Linked DNA regions of Homo sapiens: region 2 is linked to region 1. The links are contacts of gene promoters, found by promoter capture Hi-C in human tissues and cell types (Jung and others, 2019). All regions are on one chromosome and are shown on one strand. The core of a region is centred on a gene start or on the middle of the fragment in contact, and the rest is flanking DNA. Distances in the headings are between cores, read along the strand shown. Region 1 holds the start of MAP7D2 (MAP7 domain containing 2). Region 2 overlaps BCLAF3 (BCLAF1 and THRAP3 family member 3).

What was found. The method cuts DNA at HindIII sites, captures the fragments that hold promoters and counts their contacts. A contact is called where the count stands out against the background at its distance.
Region 2: a fragment that was not itself captured here is called in contact with the fragment with the promoter of MAP7D2 in region 1 in 2 of the 25 tissues and cell types used here (pancreas and thymus).

Annotation. Positions count from the first base shown.
Region 1 is chrX:20,112,345-20,119,581 of GRCh38, forward strand. MAP7D2 (MAP7 domain containing 2) reads right to left here and starts at 4,563. Exons shown (of 17, transcript NM_001168465.2): 1 at 4,406-4,563. The coding sequence starts at 4,535. The HindIII fragment of the contact is 9,946 bases long and covers 1-7,237 here.
Region 2 is chrX:19,965,578-19,972,814 of GRCh38, forward strand. It overlaps BCLAF3 (BCLAF1 and THRAP3 family member 3), which reads right to left. Exons shown (of 12, transcript NM_001367774.2): 2 at 4,647-4,721; 3 at 503-1,072; 4 at 1-129. The coding sequence starts at 4,687. Among named protein-coding and RNA genes, the nearest start is that of BCLAF3, 22 kb to the right of the region's middle. The HindIII fragment of the contact is 4,800 bases long and covers 1-3,906 here.

The DNA of each region.
Region 1 (7,237 bases), core at 3,313-5,812:
ATACCTGTTTTCCTTTCGCTTAAATGACAACCCAAACTCTGCTAGTCACAAGGCTTTTAAAAACAGAAAAAGTTCCTAGGCAAGAGGAAAACAAATGCTTCCCAACAGAAAAGCAGATGGGGGCTTGCATTCAGACTGACCTCAGAGGCAGACGAGGCGGGATCCCAAGGCCTAGTCAGACCCAGAGCCTCAGATGCCAAGACGGTAAACTCCATATTTAAATGCGGCCGACTCAGATGTGAGGTGGACAGTGGACACTCCCTCCCTAAGGGCGGCTGCCCTCTACTACCCCCTCTTCCTTCTTCTGGTGAAATTCCTTTCAAAAGGGACCGGAGGGCAGGGCCATGGGAAGTTTTCAAATCTTGGAACTGCCGCCTGAGCCAACTTAGCACATGAACAGCCCCCTAAAACCAGGCAGTATCATTGTATCACCAGCCAATATATCTCATCAAATCCTCTCAACAAGACCCACCAGGATATTTACCAACAGCCCCCAGAAATCTCCATCTCTCGCCTGCCCAAATCAACCTTGTGAATCCTTCTGTTTTGTAAGGCAATCAATGTAATTACAAGAAGACAAAGTGTTCTTTTAAAACACTAGCCACTGCAGAAGATGGGGCACCTGAGAGGAAAACATCCTTTCATGTTGGAGAGGAAGCAGGTTAGAAATGACAGACTTTGAGCAGCTATGTCACCATGGCTAGGATATGAGAAGAGAAATCACAAAGACTTTCAGCAGTTTGTCCTGAAGGTCCTGCTAAGTCTAAGTCCTATGCTGCCATCAGTAAAAAAAGCCAGGAGCCACAAACCAAATACAACTTTGTAGGAAGTTTGTGGTCCTTCCTACTACCAAAGAGACTCTAGAGGCACAAACTCAACTTGTTCTCTTGTTCTTCTTGATCTGAACACTTTTTTTTTTAAGATCGGAGTCTCACTCTGTCGCCCGGGGTGGAGTGCAGTGGCTCAATCTCTGCTCACTGCAACCTCCGCCTCCCGGGTTCAAGCAATTCCCTGCCTCAGCCTCCCGAGTAGCTGGGATTACAGGTGCCTGCCACCATACCTGGCTAATTTTTGTATTTTTAGTAGAGACAGGGTTTCACCATCTTGGCCGGCCTGGTCTTGAACTCCTGACCTCGTGATCCGCCCGCCTCGGCCTCCCAAAGTGCTGGGATTACAGGCGTGAGCCACCACGCCCAGCGATCTGAACAGTTTTAGGATTAAAGCGTTCAAGAATGGTTTTAAACACAACTTTGAAAAAGGATGAAGAACTCCGATTTCTTGGGGACCCAATGCCTTTGCTACTCGGGCCCACTCTACTTTTTTTTTTATTTTACAATTTTTAATTTTTGTGGCTACATAGTAGGTAGTAGGTGCATATATTTCTGGGGTACATGAGATGTTTTGGTACAGGCATGCAATATGAAATAATCATATCATGCAAAACAGGTTAGCCATCCCCCTCAAGCATTTATCCTTTGTGTTACAAACAATCCAGTCATACTAGTAGTTATTTTTAAATGAACAATTAAATTATTATTGACTATAATTACCCTGTTGTGCTATCAAATACCAGGCCTTATTAATTCATTCTATTTTTTTATACCCATTAACCATTCCTACCTCCTTCCCACCCCCCAGTACCCTTCGCAGTCTCCAATAACCACCTACTCTCTATCTCCAGGCCCCACCCTATTTTGTTTTTCTTTCGAGACGGAGTCTCGCTCTGTCACCCAGGCTGGAGTACAGTGGCGCGAGGTCAGCTCACTGCAACCTCCGCTTCCTGGGTTCAAGCGATCCTATGCCTCAGCCTCCCAAGTAGCTACGATTACAAGCATGCGCCACCAGGCCCGGCTAATGTTCGTATTTTTAGTAGAGATAGGGTTTCACCATGTTAGCCAGACTGGTCTCAAACTCCTGACCTCAAGTGATCCACCTGCCTCGGCCTCCCAAAGTGCTGGGATCCTGGGCATGGTGGCGCAGAAGTTGCAGTGAGCTAAGATTGTGCCACTGCACTCCAGCATGGACAACAGAGTGAGACTTCATCTAAAAAGAAAGAAAGGAAATATGGTTGAGATCTGGTGATTCTATCTGCTGGTTAAAGGTTGTTAAGCAGATTGAAACAAGCACTTGCTCATTTGTTATACTATGTGTATCAGACAAGCACTAAAATGGACAGTAGATCTGGTAATTTCTATTCAGAGGTAATTAAAAGGAAAGAAAGAAGGCATCACTAGGGGGTAATGGGAACATGCACAGGATTTCAATATCGGAAGAACCTGTTGCTAGAGGAAACCACCAGCGGTATTTCCTTTCCGTCTTTTACACAGCTCCCAGGAAAACCACTTGCCAACTCATATCCCCTAAGTGTGCAACACAAAATTGTTGGACAGCCTAAACATCTCAGGTCTTTCTGTATTTTGCAGCCTTGACAGCACCCAGCCCAAGCTTAGGAACAATGGTTGACTCTCTAGAAAAGCAGGTTAAGTCTCATTAGGAATGGGTCCCAAATGCTAAGGGCCTGGGTAACCAAGAATGATCAGTATCCAGGACAGATAATTATAAAACCTCAAAATCATAATTTTTCTAAGGAGACTTTACTTAAGTACCTGGCCTTGCTAACTCCCCCAAACAACAAATGGTGGTATCACCTGGCACCTAAATTAAACATTCCAATTTTACCATACCAACCTTAATGCACATAGGTGCTTATTTCACATTTTAAACCTTCACACATATTTTTCTATATTTCCAATTTCAAATGAAGGAAGATATCCTTAAGCTAATCTTAATATCAGAAGAGTGCATTAAATGATTCTACAATAGTTTCCAAACAGAACTTATTAAGAATCTCCCCCGCAAAAGTACCTCCTCCCCTTCCCCAATTTTGTTTCCATTAAAAAAAAAAAAAAAAAAACCCCTTAAGTTCCTTCAAATAAAATCCAAGATACACTGAAAACCCAATCATACCGCCCCTCCCCACCTCTCATGAGTACAACAGAACATCGAAACAAACTATTATTTAAGCTCTCAACCAAATAAAAATGCAAACTGAAACAACCTCTCCTTTTCAGTGTTTTATTATACAAGGTCGCCTCTGCCACGGAGGGTCGTTCTGGTGGGTAGTTTCCAGGTTCTTCCCTAGCAGATGCAGCTTGAGTGTTTCAAGCAAAAAGGATAAAAACAAAAGCACACATTTCAAAGGTAGTTATAACGTTATCCTGTGACAGTTAATGAATTCTGCCTTTAAAATAGCATAATGAAAAATACAAACTGGAAATGATTTAAGCTATCTCCTCCTCCTAAGAATGATGCAACTGAAGGCCCAGTCAGAAAATACTACCTCGCCCCCTCAACCCCAGTGAAAAAGCGTGTTTTAAGAAGATTTCTCTTGATTTCTTTCCTTTTCTTGGCCCATCGTATATAAAATACTCCCATCTTCACTATGTGATAATTCATCGAATTATAGTTTTGTGTGGTTTTTTAAATGCATATTAGACTGCAATAAAAAATGTTTTAAAAATAGCCTGCCTTATTAACTAAAAATAAAAAAGTTGTTGTCAGGAAAAACAGCATGAAATCGGTTTCCATGCTGCTTACACCCCCGCACTACCTGCAACCACTTTACAGAACGTTAGCATCAGACCTGCTTATCTAAAATCCTGCCAAATGTCCTCACAGTCTCCTCCGCTGCCTCGCTGGCTTCTGGGCAGCCAGGGACCAGCCCTCCATGGCTCCCAGCATCGGCAGCCTCGAGGGCTGAGAGCCTTGTTTGCCCCGCTGCCTCGATTGAGGGCCGCGGCCCGGCCACCTGAGCAGCGTTCCCAAGACAGGGAGCGCATCCGGGCGGGAGGAGCACCCGGTCCGGGGCAGACGCCTGGCCGCCCGGGCGAATCTGCCTCTGCCAATGGGTGACACGCCGATTTTGCCCCCTGGAAACGCCAAGAGGCGCGAAGCTGGGCCACCTTCGCCGCGGGCTGCAGCGGCGCTCGCGCGCGTTTCCCAGAACGCAGAGAGAGCGCGCGCGGAGGCCGGGGCAACCCCAGAACCCCGCTCGGTTTATCCTAACGACCCCCATGCCGGCTGCTCCTCGAGGACGGGGACTGGACCCGCAGCACCCCCTCAGGCACCTCCATCCCAAACACACCTGCCGCCCACCCTAAGCCACCCCCCATGTGTACCCACTCACCCAGGTCGCCCCAAGAAAGAACCCCGCCACTCGCACAGAGAGGGGTGCGGCCCTTGGATGCACGTCCGGACGATCCTGGGCCAGGGAAAGGGCGTTTATCTCAGCTCTGCGCCGTGCCCCTTCCCCCCACGCTCGAGGACCTTTGCCCTGGGCCGCCGGGCCCGCCCCCCCACAGGAACCCGAAGCCCTCGGGCGCCCGCCACACTCTGGGGATAATACCTTGAGGCCGGTAGTTGGGCTGAGAGGTCCGCACCGCGCCCGGTTCTGCGATCTTCCCTGGGAGAGAGGTTCCCCGCGCAGTCCCCTCAGGCCGGGATCCCGTCCCGGAGCCGCCGCCGCCGCGCTCCATCGGGATGCGCCGGCCGCACAGGCGCACTGCCAAGCCCGCCGCGCCGCACCGAACCCGCGCGCGTCCGCATGCGCACGCGTCCTCACGCAGCACGCGCGCAGGGCGTGCACGTGCGATAAGCGCACCGGTTACCACGCACAGCGCACGCAAGGCGTGCACGTGCGATAGGCGCACCGCTTCCACGCACAGCGCACGCAGGGCGTGCACGTGCGATAGGCGCACCGGTTCTCACGCGGCGCGCGCTTGTAGCGTGTGCATGCAATGTGCACAACAGTCCTCACACAGCGCGTACGGGCGTGCACGCGTCCTTACACGCTGCTGTACACAGTGCACACACAGAAGGCGTGCGTACGCACACAGTTCTTCATACGATGCTTACATGCAACATGCACACACAACGTGCACACCCAGCGTAAATGCATCTTCTCACAGTAGCAGATACACACTCAAAGCGTGTGTAGATGTAGGGTGCAGTTTCTCAGACACCGTGCACACACATCCTCACTCAATGTGTGAACACAGAGCACATAACGCGCACACACGTGCTCACTCAGCACGCACACGCTTACACTCACTGGGTGTCTGCATGCAAACTCAGCAATGCAGCCTTGGGAACAATTTCTGGCTAGGCCCCCAGGTGGGTGCCAGTTGGGCCAGTGACATCTGTGCAGACGCCAGAGGACCCGCCCTCCATGCATAGTTAGGTTCCAGTTTTCGAGGCGCACGGGTAATCAGTGTTTAGTGACGCCCCACCCTCAGCGTGCGGTCACCCAGAGAGGGACAGCAGCAAGCTATTGGGGTCGATCTTCAACTAAGAGGCAGCGGCACGCGCCGTAGGCCGACCTAGGCCTTTCAACGACACCCTACTCCGCAGCCAATTTGGTTCCTCTTCTCCTGAGGCGTAAATAATGCTGACTGAAACCTCCGCGATGCCGGGTGTGGTGGCTCCCGCCTGTAATCCCAACACTTCGGGAGGCTGACGCGGGCGGATTGATTGAGCTAAGGAGTTCGAGACCCCCGTCTCTACAAAAAAATTTTAAAAATTAGCTGGGCATGGCGACTCATCTGTGGTCCCAGCTACTTGGGAGGCTGAGGCGGGAAGATCGCTTGAGCCCGGGAGGTCGAGACTGCAGTGATCACGCCACTGCACTCCAGCCTGGGCGACAGAGACCTTGTCTCAAAAGCAAAATAAAACAAAAAACCTCTGAGGAGGATCTCTCCGAGAAGACACACAAGAAACTGCTAAACGGGTTGCCTCCTAAGTAGGCACTTTTACCACTGCCATGCACATTTATTATCTTTTCAAAAACATTGAAAAAGACATCTTGGCAGGGCCGGCTCAAGCCTTTTGTTTACCCAGGCCTGCCAAGTGATAACCCGTTCCCATGGAGCCCCAGGCTGCATGTTTTTTCTCGTTGGAAGGTGACCAGCCTGAAAGTTTTATTACCACTCCTGGGGGGAGATATACACGATTAAAAATGAAGCTGAATAATGGGTACAGGTTTTCTTTTTTGGATGAAAATATTCTAGGATTATGATGAGTGCACAACTAAGTATACTAAAAACTATTGAATTGTACATTTTAAGCGGGTGAATTTTATGGTCCCTTAATTATGTCTCATTTTTTTTTTTTTAATGTGAAGCTGAAACTCTCAGGAATGGGCACCTGTACTCTTGGCCAAAGCTGGGAAAGTCCCTTTGTGGCACAAAAAATGTTTGTGATGAACGTGTTCCTGACACGCCCAAAGGTGTGCCGGGAGTAGGGTTCAAGTGTGGTGAGAAAGCCAGGAAGTTTAAACATAAATGAGTAGGAAAGTGAGCAGGTGGGGGCTGGTACCCTGAGCTGTAATGAAAACTCGAACACATTGAGATTAAGCCAAATTAAGAGCGTGGGAGCTGTCACTTTCTCCTCCCTTATCTTAGGGACCTTTGGTGAGTTCAATTCATCCAACTCTTGAGCTCATGGACATGTGTGTGTAGCATCCCTCTCTACTTTTATTCTATTTTTGGGGTCCTTTTACTTTCCATTCCTCTCCCTAATTATAAACACCTCCTCTGATATCTTTGCAGCTGCAATTTTGAAATACTGTTTTGAAGATACGCATGTATTTTAATTGTATATAAATGACACTGCATAAAAGCTATCATTCTATTTGTTTTTCCTCTCTTGGCATTGTTCTCAATCTACACAAAATGATTAGCCATTCTATCTGGTTTACCCTTCTGTAAATTCCCTGTTCAATCCTTGCCCACCTTTCCACTGGGCTACTCTGGTTGATTTCCAGGAGTTTCTTGTATTCTAGATAATTTCTGGTTTAAATGTTGCAAATATTTTATCCTAGCCAACTAAGCTTTTTAAGATTGGTAAAATTTTCCTTAATTTTTATGACAAAATCCTATTAACATGTTTACTCCATTTACAATATTGCCCTATTTTTTATCAACTGTTTTTGAAAGTTACATTACAAATACTTCCATGTGTATTTCCTAAGATTATGAATGTTCTGTTACACATACTAGAGTTGACTACCAACTTAAGTTTCACATGGATACAGTAATTTTCTCTCCATTGGCTGTTCCTCCACCTTAGAGGTAGTTTTCCTCTTGCAAAATGCACTGTGGTGAGGCACCTTAAGGCTATGCAGGTACTTACTCTTCGTCAAAAATTCTCTCTAGATTTAGCATCCATTGATGGTTCTTGC
Region 2 (7,237 bases), core at 257-2,756, 150 kb before region 1:
TAAGGTGGGAGGGAATGCTCAGGCTTCCACTTTGGGTTCCTGGCAGGCTCTCTGCTTTCATACCTCTCCACGTCTTTAGGTCTTTTTGATGTGTGTCCATATTTTCTGAAATCACGATCCTCAGGATACCTGTGTTGACATAAAGCAGTTTACACTTGCAATAGAGAGAAGAAAGGGAGAATTTATATGTGTAGAATGTCGGGCAGCATGGCTTTAAATGCAGAATGCAGTGGCAAGTTAATCTATAACCCTTTAAGCCAATTCTATAGGCACAAGGCAGTTAAAGAGGAAAATACCATCTTTTAAAAGTATTCTAGCCATCAACATGATTTACTCTAAAAAGAAATACTTCACTACTACCAGTACCCCATAATTAAATTACAATGCTTTTTGTCTTTTTAGACAAAAGCTTTTCAAGGTGGTTATCTTCAACCATAAAGTAAACAGATCTTTTCACTTGAGGCTTTATACCAAATTACCCAGGTTTAATGTTTTCCTATACCTCTTCTGAAATGAGCTCCTTGTCTCAAAGTCTTCAGAGCCTCTTCTAGTTGACTGGGAGTATTTTTCTTCTTGTATCCTCTGGTGCCTCAACTCATCTTCATGCCACTTTCCTTCAAATCTAAAAGAATCTGCTATTGACCTCTGAGGTGGTTTCCCTCCTTTTCCACTTCCTCTAACTCTGTGGTCATCAGGACTATGCCCTCCTTGCACTTTCTGGGGATAAGAATTCCTTTCATGCTCTTTGTAGGGTATACCCTCTGAGTATTTGGGCATATACTGAGCTCTCCTGTTACTGTCCCCTCTTCCAGGCGAATATCCTCTGTGAGGCTTATACATATAAACATTTTCTAAAGAGTTTCTTATGTTAGGGGAAGGTGATCTATGTTCATAAGACTGGTAATATATATTTCCACGAGAGGGAATCCTTGGTTTACTCTGTCCATGTTTCTCACTGTCCATTCTCCACGCGACGGGTCTTTTTGGATCCTTCCTATATTCACAGCCATAATGCCCGTGTGAATGTCTTTGCTTGTAGTGTTCAGCATTTCTAGGTACTGGTGATAAAGACCTATGTAAACAAACACAGAAAAGTGTAAACCATTTAATCAACTAAGCGTGTCTCAATATGACCTACCAAAAACAGTTGCTTTTCCTAGGATCCCTCGGCTTCTTCCACTCAAACTAAATTCATCAATTTGCTACATCTGCATTCTAAATTGTACATCTGGGGGTCTGATTATGGTACTGCCCAACCAACAAGCATACTCTTTCCATCTGAACTAAGGTATTCCACGTGCTTATCCAAATGAGCTGAGCACACCTGTCCCATTGGAGGAGGGCCAGCTTAGGTGCACAGCAGGATCCATTTTGGAAGACTGCTGACAGCAAAGTTCTGGCAAAAGAAGATGCAGTGACTTCAAAGGGCCAGTCAACAAAAGCTTACATCCAGTTCAAAGGCCAGGTAAGAAACAAGCAGGAAGGCAAGACTCACACAAATCAATGTGTAGGAGGGTCTCCAGCAAACTGAACATTACCTCTGACAATAAATTAGAGTCTAAGATTTAATGATGCTACAATTCAAACTCAGACCCAAGCCAGGCCCAGAGTTTCTCCAGCTGATTGTCTACTTTCTCTACTAAGGCTGTATCAAGGAACAAAACATATGTACTTAACCGGGGGAAAAGGGGGAACAAGAGGCTCTTAAGACTTGAATCTCATGCTTAGTTCCTCCAGAAATACCTCTAACATAGGTAAGTTGCTTTTCTTTCCCAGATCTGTTCCTTTGCATATCTATGGAAAGATGTGCTGTTCGAACAGAGCTTGTAACTTCGGTGAAGTTATACTTTAAAGCAGCTACAATGCTCTCCAGGGACAGCACATCCTTTATGGAACTACCTTCTCCATACCTCAGCATTGCCAACATTGAGGCTTGTGTTTCCACTAAGGCGGAAGGCTTCTGTATCCAGGGAAACCAGTCTGGGTTGCCTAGACGTAAAGAGAGGTGTGCCACTATCTGGGACACAATAAAGTTCCATTTTGCACCTGGGGACCTTTCCACCATCTGAGCTGCCCAATTTCTCCATCTCCTCCCTGAGGGTTTAATGTCTTCTAATCAATGAGGAAGCGATCCTTGCAGCTTCTGTTATGGCTCTCTCTTAGAAGCTGCCATGGAGTTGGCGCAACCATGAGTGAAACCCTTTCCTTTCGATGATAAGTCTGTGCCCTCCCTACAAGAAAGGAGGCAGATCTACCTTCCTCATGTACCTACTAGGAGTTATATACTGAACTTGGCAATATTGCCCTCTGGAGTCACCAAGCTAGACATACTGGCAAGTGTTATTTAGCTAAAGCAGAAACTCTGCCATCCAGCTGGCTACACCTCATCACAGGAGGAAGCAAGTGGAGCCTCTGAGGACTTCCTGGAAGATTTCATCTCTTTCACAGCCAAGGAGAAAAGCTGGCAGCCAGAGTCAAAGGTCTTGCAGTCTGGATGGAATTCCCAATAACTTACTTTTAATCCTTACTTCACATTCAATATCGGTTTGATATGCTATTTTATATGTTTCATAGCACAGTGTCCCTTTCTTCCGAAGAAGTTTGCTGGAACAGTTGCTATTGTTTTTGGTTTTCCTAAAGGAACAAAAAAGACTCAAGGAGTCTGTTGGGAGATAATTCTCCACAGTCTCTTGAGTTCTGCACGCCTTGCGAGCGCCCTGTGAGCAGAGGCACTGACAACCTTTGTTCTAAGGCAGTGTTGCAAGATAGAGATAGGGTCTCACTCAGGGAAAAGGGCTGATGTGTTTGCTGTCCAGGATAATAAAATAAATGTCTCCTCCAAGGCAAAGGCTGCATGATGGGTTTATCTGCAGCCCCTGATAAGGGACTCATGTTCCTCAGTTGTACTATAACCCCACTGCCTGTATGGAAAGCTCGCTGCCTCACGGCATCCATCCAGTCAGTGGCTCTGCAGTCCCAGCCCTCACGGGACCCAGAGGGTGGGGGGAATGACAGGAACATGAAGCTCAAGCTGCTTGCTGTATTCTGAGTAATAAAGGCCTTTGTCTCTGACCCAAGAGTGCCCTGTGGCAGGCTAATAATGTGTTAGTTTGCAAGTAAGGTAAAATATCAGATCCTTTATAGTTCTTAACAAAGAAACCTGAGAAGGAACCTGGAACTCAGGCACTAAGCTTGGCAGGGTCTCTTGTGCCCCTCATCAGCGCCTTTTGTCTTATCAAGAAATGACCTCTGTGGGCCGGGCGCAGTGGCTCACGCCTGTAATCCCAGCACTTTGGGAGGCCGAGGCGGGCGGATCACGAGGACAGGAGATGGAGACCATCCTGGCTAACAGAGTGAAACCCTGTCTCTACTAAAAATACAAAAAATTAGCCGGGCGTGGTGGCGGGCACCTGTAGTCCCAGCTACTCAGGAGGCTGAGGCAGGAGAATGGCGTGAACCCGGGAGACGGAGCTTGCAGTGAGCTGAGATCACGCCATTGCACTCCAGCCTGGGCGACAGAGCGAGATTCCATCTCAAAACAAAATAAAAATAAAAAAAATAAAAATAAATGACCTCTGTGATACCCTGTTAAAATCATTCACTTCTATACATTCCCTTTTCTTTCTCAAGTTCCTTGCCATTGCAAGTGGCTCCTGTGAATTACAAAATGAAAACTGTTGACAAAATGATTGATTAGTTACTGCATAACTGAAATGCACAAGCAAAATGGGCAAGTTATCTTAACATGAAAAATCTTGGTCTGCCTTTTTTGTGTGAAATGATGGTCCTTTTTAAGTCCTAGAAAATACTAGTCACATTTACAGCTCGGTGCCTTTGCTCCTGCTCTCCCCCTTAACTAGAATATTTCTCTTCACTCTTTCTGCCTTTAGAAGTTCTACACATCCTGAAACGCCCAGATAAAATTGTTTTCATCTCTTCTTTGAAGACTTTCTTAGTACCCTCTTTTTCCTCCACAAAAACAGAATTATTTCCTCCCTAGAAATCCAGAATCCTTTGTCCCAATAAGTAGCACAGCATTTTCCCCACTGTATCATAGTTGGCCATGGTGTCAATCTCCCAGCCCAACCACGTGCTTGCTGAGGCCAAAGAAGATGGCATATTTGCCTTTGTAGCCCAAGAACCTGCCTGTAGCAGGTGTACAATAAAGACTGGTTAAATTGTTCCAATCTAATGATACATAATTTTGATACTACCAAGAAGGAAGGAGAAATGGACTATAATCGAACTATTCAAAACTCTATTATTCTGCCATGAAGAAGAAAGAGGAAACTCCCTATTTTCTAACTCGAAATTTCTTTAAACATATTAATTATGAAAAAATAAAATGAAATCCATACTGAGGAGTTCTAAACTGCTCACTAATTCAAAAAATGTAATACTCTCAAAGATATTTCTCACTCTCTCTTGCTGTGGCCACTGCACTGCTTTTCATTATTTAACTCTAGCCACCTGCTATGATTAAACAAAGCTGTCAGCTACTAGAATGTAGAAATACAACCTCCACTATGATAAAGTACCTACTGTGAATAACCAGGTCCCATGAGCTTAAGTGTTTACTAGTACTGGTGAAATTGAAAGTCACAGCACATCCCAAATCCAAGCTTACTCTGCTAAGAACTGCTCACCTGTGTTTCCACCTGGGGGATCTAGATCGTGACCGTGCCATCCTTTGACACGTGAGCCACTATCCACTTTTTACACTGCAAAGAAACACAGGATTAGCAGGTTTGTAGAAAGACCCTACAATTTGATCTAAAACATAGCGAATGCTGCCAATTGACTTAAACCCTTTGTGCCTCAGCTTCCTCATCTCTAACATGGAAATGATAATAATAGCACCCCTTCTTATTGGAATGTTGTCAGGATAAAATGAATTAAATCAGGGGTCAGTAAACTGTCTGCAAAGTGCCAAGTGGTAACTATTTTAGGCTTTGCAGGCCATGTAAGGTCTCTGTCACATCTGTTTCTTCTTTTTTTTAAAGCAACTCTTTAAAAATGTAAAAATGTGACAACATTGAGATGTGTCGTAAGTGTAAAATCCACATCAGATTTCAAAGAGTTCATATAAAAAATGTAAAATATTTTATTGATGTATTTCTAATATTAACTACATGTTGAAATATTTTGAATATACTAGGTTAAAGGCACTATGTTGGTCAAATTAAAAAAATAAAAGTACAAAAACTATTTAGCTCAAGTGGGTCATACAAAAATAGGCCCGGCAAGTCAAATGCATTGTAGTTTAATGACCCCTAAATTAAATCATAAAAAGAGCTTATTGGTGTCTGGCAACAGCAACTGCTAAATAAGTATTCCAAAAAGAGGAAAAATTACCCAGAATTCCTCTATCTGAATACAAGCACTACTACTTTCCTGTCTTTCACCATGTACAGAAACACTTCATATAATCACAGTTTAAATGTTTAGGAATACGTGATGGTATACTCTGCTTTTTAAATTGTTAGATTCTAAGAATTATAATTTCTTCTTTTAAAATTTCTTTTCTTTTGAGACAGGGTTTTGCTCTTTCTCCCAGGCTGGAGTGCAGTGGTGCGATCACAGTTCACTGCAGCCTCAACTTCCCAGGCTCCAGCGATGCTCGACCTCCCAGGTAGCTGGGACCACAAGCGTGCACATCCGCACCTGGCTAATTTTTGTATTTTTGGTAGACACGGGGTTTTGCCATGTTGCCCAGGTTGGTCTGGATCTCCTGAGTTCAAGCAATCCTCCGACCTTGGCCTCCCAAAGTGCTGGGATTACAGGCGTGAGCTACCACATCCGGTCAGAATTACAATTTCTAATACTCAACTGCTGCCTAACTTTCCACCAGACAAATATGCCCAAAATATAATTGAACATTATTAGACATTTAGTTTGCTTCTGGTTTTTTGCTAAAACAAATAATGTCAAATAAGTAAATTTTAAAAGGCACTTCTAAACTTGATTTTTCAAATATTCTTCAGTCTTTAAAAGAAACTGATAGCTTCGGAAACTGAATTTTAAAAACACATAAGTAGGTATAATCTCCTATACTAGCTATTATTTACAACTCAGTAGTCCTCCTCAGTTCTGATACGAATATTAAGTAGTTCCTAACTTAGTGGTCCCAAACCCCTGGTGGCTTCTAGAACGACTGCCATGGGCTCATGAATTATCATATAGCTACCGTGCACAGACCACAGAATAAATAAGTGTATGTCTCATATATTATGCACCTCGATTTTGCAAATTTCTGAAGACACTATGGTGAAACTAAAATATAAAGGCTTCTTGTCACTATGCAGTTTTTCCACCCACAGATACAAAAAGTACAATTATTATGTAGACATCAGTTTAAAAGGCGGTCCTCATACTCAAACATTTGCAAACTACTGTTATCCTGAATTTCAAAAGAAAGTAAAAGCATATCAAGTCAAAGAACTTGAACTAGATCACTCATTAAAGGAAGTACAATCAATTCAATTCATTTAGTTATACACAGCCTCTTTCTAAAAAGATTTTGAGGCTAAGAACAATTAGCTCACAAAGTATTATGAAATTAAAACACTAAAGGAAAAAATGTTTACTTAGTAACTAAAAGTATCAAAATGTATTCATTTAACAAATTTTGCTGTGTACCAATTATTTGCCAGACACTGTTCTAGGGCTACAGCAGTGAACAAAAACAGACAAAACTTCCTGCTCTGATAGAGATTACATTCAATAGGGAAGCTTATAATTTCACTAGATAAACTCTGGGTATCAGTTCATACCTATTAAATTTAATGAAAATAATAAACCCAAAGGTGGTAATTTTTTTGGGGGCGGGTGGGAACAAAAATATTGCTGATGATAATGAGAAAGGAAAATTTTTCTGGAGCATAATCTTTTTTCCATTTTTAAAAACAAAACATATTTATTGATATTGAATTCACATGCCATATAATTTACCCATTTAAAGTATACAATTCAATGTTTTTTAGTATATTCACAGTGATATACAACCATTATCACTGTCTAGTTGTAGAACATTTTCATCCTCCCAAAAGAGACCCCATTAGCAGTGAATCCCCACTTCTCCCCTCCCCTGCTTAGCCCGTTTCTATGGATCTGCCTATTTGAGACATCTCATACAAATGGAATCAAACAGTATGTAGTTTTTTTGTGACTGGCTTCTTTCACTTAGCATGTTTTCAAGGTTCACCTGTGTTGTAGTATGTATCAGTACGTCATCCCT